Linked DNA regions of Homo sapiens: region 2 is linked to region 1. Evidence: promoter capture Hi-C in human tissues and cell types (Jung and others, 2019). All regions are on one chromosome and are shown on one strand. The core of a region is centred on a gene start or on the middle of the fragment in contact, and the rest is flanking DNA. Distances in the headings are between cores, read along the strand shown.

Evidence for each region. The method cuts DNA at HindIII sites, captures the fragments that hold promoters and counts their contacts. A contact is called where the count stands out against the background at its distance.
Region 2: the fragment with the promoter of SEC14L5 here is called in contact with the fragment with the promoter of VASN in region 1 in 1 of the 25 tissues and cell types used here (spleen).

What each region holds. Positions count from the first base shown.
Region 1 is chr16:4,369,768-4,373,730 of GRCh38, reverse strand. VASN (vasorin) reads right to left here and starts at 1,883. Exons shown (of 2, transcript NM_138440.3): 1 at 1,738-1,883. The region is part of intron 9 of CORO7-PAM16 (CORO7-PAM16 readthrough); the gene reads left to right. All of the region lies in intron 9 of CORO7 (coronin 7), which reads left to right. RefSeq lists an enhancer at 1,676-2,501. The HindIII fragment of the contact is 27,496 bases long and covers 1,265-3,963 here.
Region 2 is chr16:4,956,423-4,960,385 of GRCh38, reverse strand. SEC14L5 (SEC14 like lipid binding 5) reads right to left here and starts at 2,056. Exons shown (of 16, transcript NM_014692.2): 1 at 1,941-2,056; 2 at 1,000-1,113. The coding sequence starts at 1,062. RefSeq lists an enhancer at 1,529-2,064 and silencers at 1,868-2,163, 1,962-2,171. The HindIII fragment of the contact is 18,853 bases long and covers 1-3,963 here.

The DNA of each region.
Region 1 (3,963 bases), core at 634-3,133:
CTTATAAGCCCAGGCAAGGACTTAATTTTCTGTACTTGGGACTTGTCCCAGCTCCCCCGGGGCTGTCAGTGGGGGTGACAGTAATGGGAGCTAGGAGCCGCGGACCCATCTCCTGCCCGGGGCATCTCCCTTGCCATCTCCCTGGCCCCTGGGCTGCGTGCCAGAGGGGCCTTCCTCGGGTAAGCACAGGTCTGGGCAGTGTCTGAGAGGCTCCTTATGCTGAATCCCATTCTCCCATTCCCAGAATATGGAGAGAGAGGTGCCATCTGGACAAATGCCCTGGGACCCCAGCCCCCAGCCCCATCCCCATCTGACCCTCCGGACCCACAGGTAGCAGGACAGCTGTTCCAACGTGCAGGAGACAGGGGCGGGGTGGGGACAGGCAGTGCCCGGCCCCCAGGCTGGCATGTGTGTGCGCATCCTCCCTCCCCAGGCCCAGGGGAGGCTAGATAATGGTCTGGAGGGGATCCAGCTGGGCTGCTCATCACCAGAGCCTCTTCCTGCCTCTGACACTCTGTTTACAGAAGCTCCAGGCCAACTCCCCTGGGAGAAGAGAGTAAACTCAGGGGACTGCTCCCCATCCCCCACCCGCCTGCCCCAGCTCTGTTGGGTTTTTGTCAATAGCTGGGCCCATCCTGGACTTTGCTGCCCCCTGGACTGGCCCTAATGGACCCTGCTTGGAAGGTCCCAGCCCGGCCACCCCTCTATGCCCTCAACACCCAAAGTACAGTCTAGTGTGAAGGGACCTTGGAGATTTTATCCAATCCCCAGCCCTGGAGGCTCTCAGCCTGGGGAAGGGGGCTCTAGGTCCCGCTGCCTCTCTCCAGAGCCTCACCTGTCCTTGGTGCAAAAGGCAGGCATGGGGACACCTAGACCCCCAGGACCTCTTCCTTCCACCCTGCACACTCCACCCCTGGGCCACAGCAGGGGAGGCGGTCAGTGACCCTGGTGTGGCAATCGTTAACGAATGGGGGAGAGGCAGAATGGTTGGCACCAATCGGCTGGCCTGCCAGTGACCACAGGGGACCTCAGCAGTCCTCAGGCCCCAGCACTGCCAGCCCAGGGACACAAAGGACTAGGCTGGCTCCAGGCCACTGGGTTTGCAGCCCAAGCAAAGCCCCTTCCCTGGCAGAGGCAGAGACCCGGCACCCTGCCTGATACCCGAAGCTCTAAGGGCCCTGGCCAGTACAGGTCCATCCCCCACCTGGAGGGATGGGCATCGGACGCCCACCAGCCACTCCCCGCCCCTCCCTAGGGCTGCATATCTGTAGCCCCCAGCTGTGCTTTGAGTGACAAGGGTCCAGAGGACCCCGGGCAGCCCTTCTGCACAGCAGCACCTACTGCCGGACCCCAGGAGGGAAAAGTGACCCAAGCCTGTGGCTTGGCTATCCCCCTCAAAGGGGTTTGATTCATAAAACTGGTCATGCCGGAGGCCCAGCCGTGGGAGGAGGAAGCATGGGACGGGGTGTTTATTTTGTCTGCTTGCAGCCTCGCGGGCTCACCGCACACTCAGGCGCGCACCCTGGCCGGCCGCGGGGCTGTCGGCGCCCCAGGACGGCGGGGGAGGGAGCGTACAGGGCCTGCCCGCCGGGCGGCCCAGGTGACCGTGTGGGGCTGGGGCCGCGGTCCCGCCCGAGAGTGCGTGTGTGCGCGCGGCGGCGGTCCCCGCGCGTGTGCACAGCCTGGCCGTGGCGCCCCCTTCCCCGCCCGCAGCCCCCCAGCCCCACAGAAACTCACCGGGAGGCGGCGGCGGCGCAGGGAGCCGGGCGGGGCAGGCCGCGGCCTCAGTCTTTCCTGGCGGGTCGGGCCCGAGGGGGTCCTGGGTCCCGAAGCAACTGCGTTCGAGTCCGCGTCCACCCGCCCCGGGCTCGGGCTCCGGAGTCGGCTCGCTGGAGGCAGGTCGCGCCTTAAGAGTCCCGGGGGGCGGGCCCGCCGCGGCAGGGGCGGGGCCTCTCCCCATTGGCCGGGGCGGAGCCGCGTGGAGACACGCCCCTTCCCCACCGAGGGGCTCGTGGGCCGGGTTGCCCTGGCCCTCACCCTGCGGCCACCTGACCTGCGCGGGGAGACCTTGCCCGTCGTGGGTTTGCCGGATGACACTGGGCAGGTTTCTGCTTTTTGTGTAAAAAGCGAGAGACTATTTAGGAATCCTAAGCGTCACAGCCCAGATGCCTATGAGGCACCAGGCAGGTGACAAATGCCAGAAGTCCACCCCAGGGCCTCTGCGGCCCTGGAGAGGCAGGATGGCGGGAGTGGGGCTGGTAAGGGCTGAGTCCTCATGACCAGCCCGGGCCAGCTAGAGCTTTGGATTTTTGAAGAGAAACTGGAAATCCAGATTTTTAGGTGAAATCTCTCAATGTGTTATTGTTGGTAGCTAATCCCAATTTCAAAAAACTCCTGGCAGCCCACACAAAGCCCTTTCAAGAGCCTCCTAAGTATAAACTCCAATGCCAAATCTGAGCTCAGGGTCCTCTTAGCCACGACAGCCTTAAGAGTTGTGAGCAGCCCTGGACTCTCTTCCCCACCATATTATGAGATGAAGGGGCTGTGTCAGGGAGGGCAGTGGTGGTCTGCCCACGGCCCCACAGTTACTGGCAGCTTCAAGCCTGAGCTGTGGAGGCATAGGGGTGGTCACCGTCGGTGGGTGGGGCCTGGGCTGCAGTTGACAGTGGCCCTTGATTGGGCAGGAGGGGCGGGTGCCAGGGGCCGGACTAGTCCAGAAAAATCCCCTGCCTTGGAGGATTCCAGGAAAACACTCTGCCCTCCTCCCCCTCCGCGTTTGTGGTCAGTCATGCCTCAGAGCCTTTGGGGGCCCAGCTCAGCTCCTGACTTCCGGAGAGCCTTGGGACACCCACACCCCCTCCAGCCCGGCCTGTAGCCAAGGCCCTTGGCTGGGCTAGCTCTAGTCTTTGGGGGGCCTGAAGGCTTATCCCTGGGAGGCTGGGCCACACCAGCTGGAGGGTTTCCTAGTCTCTGGAGGACTCAGTTATCTCCAGAAGGCAGGATGGCCTCTGTGTCTAGCCGTCAAGGGCTAAGCAGGGCCTGGCTGGGACAGTCACCTTCTGGACCTCCCGTCCACAGGGCCCTCTCCCCACAGGGCCCCTTTCCAGGGCTGGCAGGGCTCCACAACCCATACGTTTCTCGGTCTACATGGATTAGGGCATGGCTTGCGGACCTCTGTTCCTGGGTTGGGGCTGGCCTTTGGGTGCATTTAGTGCAGGCTTTATGGGAGTTTTTACAACTTTGAAGGCACTGCTAACATTGAAAAATCAGGTGGTTTCATATTAAAATGGGGCTTCCCAGCTTGCATTGAACAGGAACTCTCAGCTGGGGCTGAGTGGCGGTTGCTCCCTCTGCCAAAATGTGGGCTCATGGGTCACCCCAGTCCCCACCACTCCCTGCTGCCTCCTGCCAAGCTGTCCACTCACTTGAGTTTCCTGCCCGGCCCCAGAACCATCTGAGTTTCCAATCAGTGCTGTGCAGCCTCTTGTCGGACTGTTTCCCTGCCTCTTCCCTTGGCCCTGTGTCCTCTGAAGCCCTCAGAAGCATCCACAGATGCCCAGGGTCAGGGGTAAAGAGGGCTCCAAGAGCCTCCAGCCTGGCTTTCCTCAAGGAACAGGACCTCCTGATGTCCTTGAAGCTTCTCACCTCTGTGGCAGGTTCTTGTAGACGGAGAGACCCCATCTGCCTGGTGTTCACCCCCTGCCCCAATCCTGTGCCCTGGCCTTACACAGGTCCCCACTTACCCAGAGGCTCAAGGGAAGCTTTTAGGAGACCCCTCTCAGTTTATCCAACATTGCCTTGTATGGTTTCAAGGTGCCACCCGCCTTTAGAACCTGGTTACCAGCAGTCTGCACACAGCGGGGGAGCTAGGGGCTGTGGGGGTGGAGGGGGGTCAAAGGATCCTAACTAACTCTCCAGCCTGGGTGATAGGGACAGATCCAAGGGACCCAGCCTGCTTTGAAC
Region 2 (3,963 bases), core at 807-3,306, 590 kb before region 1:
GGGGTGGATGCTAATGTTTCTTACACTTTCAATACATTAATTTACAAGACTTCGGTGTAATAACAGCGACAGCATATTTTGTGAGCTCCTACTGTGTGCCCGGCACACAGCAAGGAGCACCAAGAACTATCTCATTTACTCCTCCCCGCAACCTTGTAGCATTGTCCCCATGTTACTGAGCAGGGAAGTGAAGTGCTCAGAGGCAGAGGGATGCAGCCAAGAAGGAATTCCACATCCACCTATGTCCAGCTTCTGCCCCCAGGGTGAAAAGACCAGTGATCCTGGGGGCCAAGGATCTGGCAGCCAATTCTAGGCCTCCAACTGACTTGCTGCACAACACAGAGTACATCACAAAGCAAACCTACCCACTCATTCTCTCTCTCGTCCCAGTGTCAGCTTCCTTAAAGGGGAGGGAAGGGGGTCTGTGAGCAGAAGGAGGGCTCTGTGGTCAAATGTGAGGTTCTAGAGTCTCCTTTGTGGGGATCTCAGCCCCGACTCCACCTCTGCGTAGATACAGAACTTAGTGTCATCCCTTCACCTGTCAAAGCCTCAGTTTCATGGAGGTTACATGGGAAAATAACAGCTATCGGGAATTGGAAGAAACATCATCTGTTAAGACAGTGCTGTAAACATTCAATAAACAGCTGTTGTCATTATCACCACCATTCCATTTATCACTGTGATATGCCATTATATGAAATGACAGCAGTGGCTTGGCCCCTGATACCTTTGTTTTCTATCAGGAGAGTCTAAAGTAAGGGAGCAGGTCAGCTTCAACAAGGAGAAGGAAGAAAGACTTTGTGTTTTGGTCACTGGGCCGAGGATAGGATGGTTGGACAGAGAGGTCACTGGATAGAAGTTAAACCCACCAGGTCAGCTGAGTAACTCACTAATTCCTTCTGATCTGGGAGTCTAAGGAGCTCCGTCTTCCTACCGCCATAGCTGATCTCAAGCCCCTCCAACTGTCACATGGGGGCCCAAGAATCAGGAGTCACTCACCGCCATGACCAGCTCAAACGGGTACTTGTAGACTCGGACAGGAGACTGGTATCTTTGCACCATGTTCACGCTGGAGCACCAATGGAGGTCACCAGGCAGGGGTGTGCACAGAGCCTGGGGCGAGGAGTGACTGGTGAGGTTGCAGCTCCCACCTCGGGAAGCAGGGACACCACCCACCAAGTGTAAGGGGCAGCCCCTGGCCCCACCCACACAGCTCCCCAGCCTTCAAATTGAGAAGGCTGATATTCCCCCCAAATTACTCCAGGCCAAGCCCCAACAGCTTCCCTGTCATTAGCCATGGCCCCAGACCACGCTCAGCCTTCCAAGAGCAGTCAGCACCCCCAAACTTTCCTCTACCCCCACCCCTTCACACTGAGGGCCCCCAGAAGCCTTACGGCCACCCACACAGACACACACACATTTGCAATTCTTACACTCCCACGGTTCTATTCACGCATGCACCCCGCAGCTTGCCACAGACTTGCTGGCCTACAGCCCACCCCCGAGTCTCCTTGCACCTGCCCTCCCATTTTCCTCCCAGACACCCTGACATACACACACAGCCTTCACCACATTTCACAGGCACTGTCTCTATCACACACATGTACACACGCAGGTTTCCCTCCCACACGGGACTGCTTTTGCACACGCCTCCAACTTTGCACACACACCCTGAAACACGCACCTGCCCAGCTCCACGCACGCAATTCCCCTGGTGTGCACAGACGTGCACACACGCACACACACCCGTGCGCACATGCACACACACGTACACACACGTAGAGGCAATCGCACACGCATGCACACACAGGTCCCCGCAGCTTTGCTCACCCTCGCCCTCGGGAGCCTTTGGGAATGCAGCCTAGGGGAAGTGCCCTGGAAGCCCGCCTGGCTCGGGAGCTGAGCGCTTACCCGCGCCCGCCTGGCCTGGAGCGCAGTACCTGAGGCGGGGCCCGATCGCGGATCTCTAGCCTGGTGTGTCCCGCCTTGAACACCCTGCGGCCAGGACAGCTGTGGAAGGCCGGAGGGGCGGGAGCGAAACCTGCCGGGCCGAGAGAGCTCCAGGACCCGGGACAGCGGAGATCCTGGCCTGGCCCCGCCCCTGACCTGGTCCCGCCCACGTCCCCGGCCATGGCCCCGCCCAGGTTGGCCCTGCCCCCTAACTGGTCCCGCCCCACTCTGGCCCCGCCCCAGGCGAACTCCCCCTGGTTCTAGCCCCGCCCCTTATTTTTAGATGTCGCTTGTTTGACCACGCCCTCAGCCCAGTCCTTTCTCTAGATTGGTCACACCTCAGGAAGTCCCCTCCCCCTTCACTGGCCCCGCCCTCCAAGGCCCTCAGCCTCGGGGAATGGTAGGCCACAGGACGACCCCGCCCTAATCTAGCTCTGCCTCCAAGCAGACCCTGAGTCCGGGCCGACCCGCCCCGGACCCTGCGTCTGGCCGACAGTACTGTTTACATTTGTAGATAAGCAGAATTTACGCTTTTCTTGCTCAGATTAACCTCGCCCTCGTCCCGCTGCACTTGGGTCTGACTGGCTCCTCCACCTGTCCCCGCCCCACGGCCCGCGCATGCACCTTCGCCCACTCTGCACACCTTCACAGAGCGCCTGCTGGGGGTCAGCCCTGTCCAGGCGCTGGAGAGCCGCCGGTGAGCCACACGCACGAATCCCTGCCCTCGTGGAGTTTATACTACGGTGGGGAGACAGACACTCAATAAATAAGGCAAATATATGATGTGTGAGGTAGTGAAAAACTCTAACGAGAGAAAAATAAGCAGGAAAGGGGCTCAAGGAGCCAGCGGAGAGAAAGGACAATTTAAAACAGGTAAGAGGCCGGGCGCCATGTCTCACGCCTGTAATCCAAACACTTTAGGAGGCGGAAGCGGGAGGACCGCTTGAACCCAGGAGTTGGAGACCACCCTGGGTAACATAGCAAGAACCTATCTCTACAAAAAAATTTTTTTTTAGTTTAGGCAGGGCGCGGTGGCTCACGCCTGTAATCCCAGCACACTGAGAGGCCAAGGCAGGCAGATCAGCTGAGGTCAGGAGTTCGAGAACAGCATGGCCAATATGAGGAAACCCCGTCTCTACTAAAATACAAAATTAGCCGGGCATGGTGGCGTATACCTGTAATCTCAGCTACTCGGGAGGCTGAGGCAGGAGAATCGCTTGAATCAAGGAGGCGGAGGTTGCAGTGAGCCGAGACTGCGCCACTGCACTCCAGCCTGGGCAAGAAGAACAAAGCTCCGTCGCAAAAAAAAAAAAAAAAAATTAGCCAGGCGTGTTGGCACGTGCCTGTGGTCCCAGCTACTCAAGAGGCTGAGGCAGGAGGATCCCTTGAGCCCAGAAGTTCAAAGCTGCAGTGAGCTGTTACCTGGCCACTGCACTCCAGCCTGGGCAACAAAGCAAGACTCGGTCTCAAAATAAATAAGTAAATAAATAAATAAAACAGGGAGTAAGGGGGCCTCCCTTGGGAGAGTGACATTTGTCCATCACTCTCATTTTAACTCACACTTAACCCCTTTCAGCCCTCCCAGGACTCCCAGGGGACCAACCTTGCTCCCAGAAGTCCTGCCTTGCCACTCCTCATCTGTTTAGCCTACAAGACCCAAGAAATTGGCTCTGGACAGTGCTGTCATCCATGTATTCACTCATTCAACATTTACTGAGCACCTACTACGTGCCACCGTGGGGTGAATTCACCCCTTCAAGCAGGGGAAGTCAGAGGTGGCCAGGGAGATGGACAACCCCTGATATATTTCAAGTATGTCACTGCACCCTGTGAAAATCACCTCTCTTCCCTTCCTAGCCTGCATCACATTCTAATATTGCATTTATTCGTTTTATATATCTGTGGGTTCCTGGAGGTCTCTCTCAGGAGACTGTGAGCTCCCTGAGGGCAGGGGCAGTGGCTGCCTTATTCAGCTGCCCGCATGTTGGGAAGGATCTTACTGGGGACCTGGCA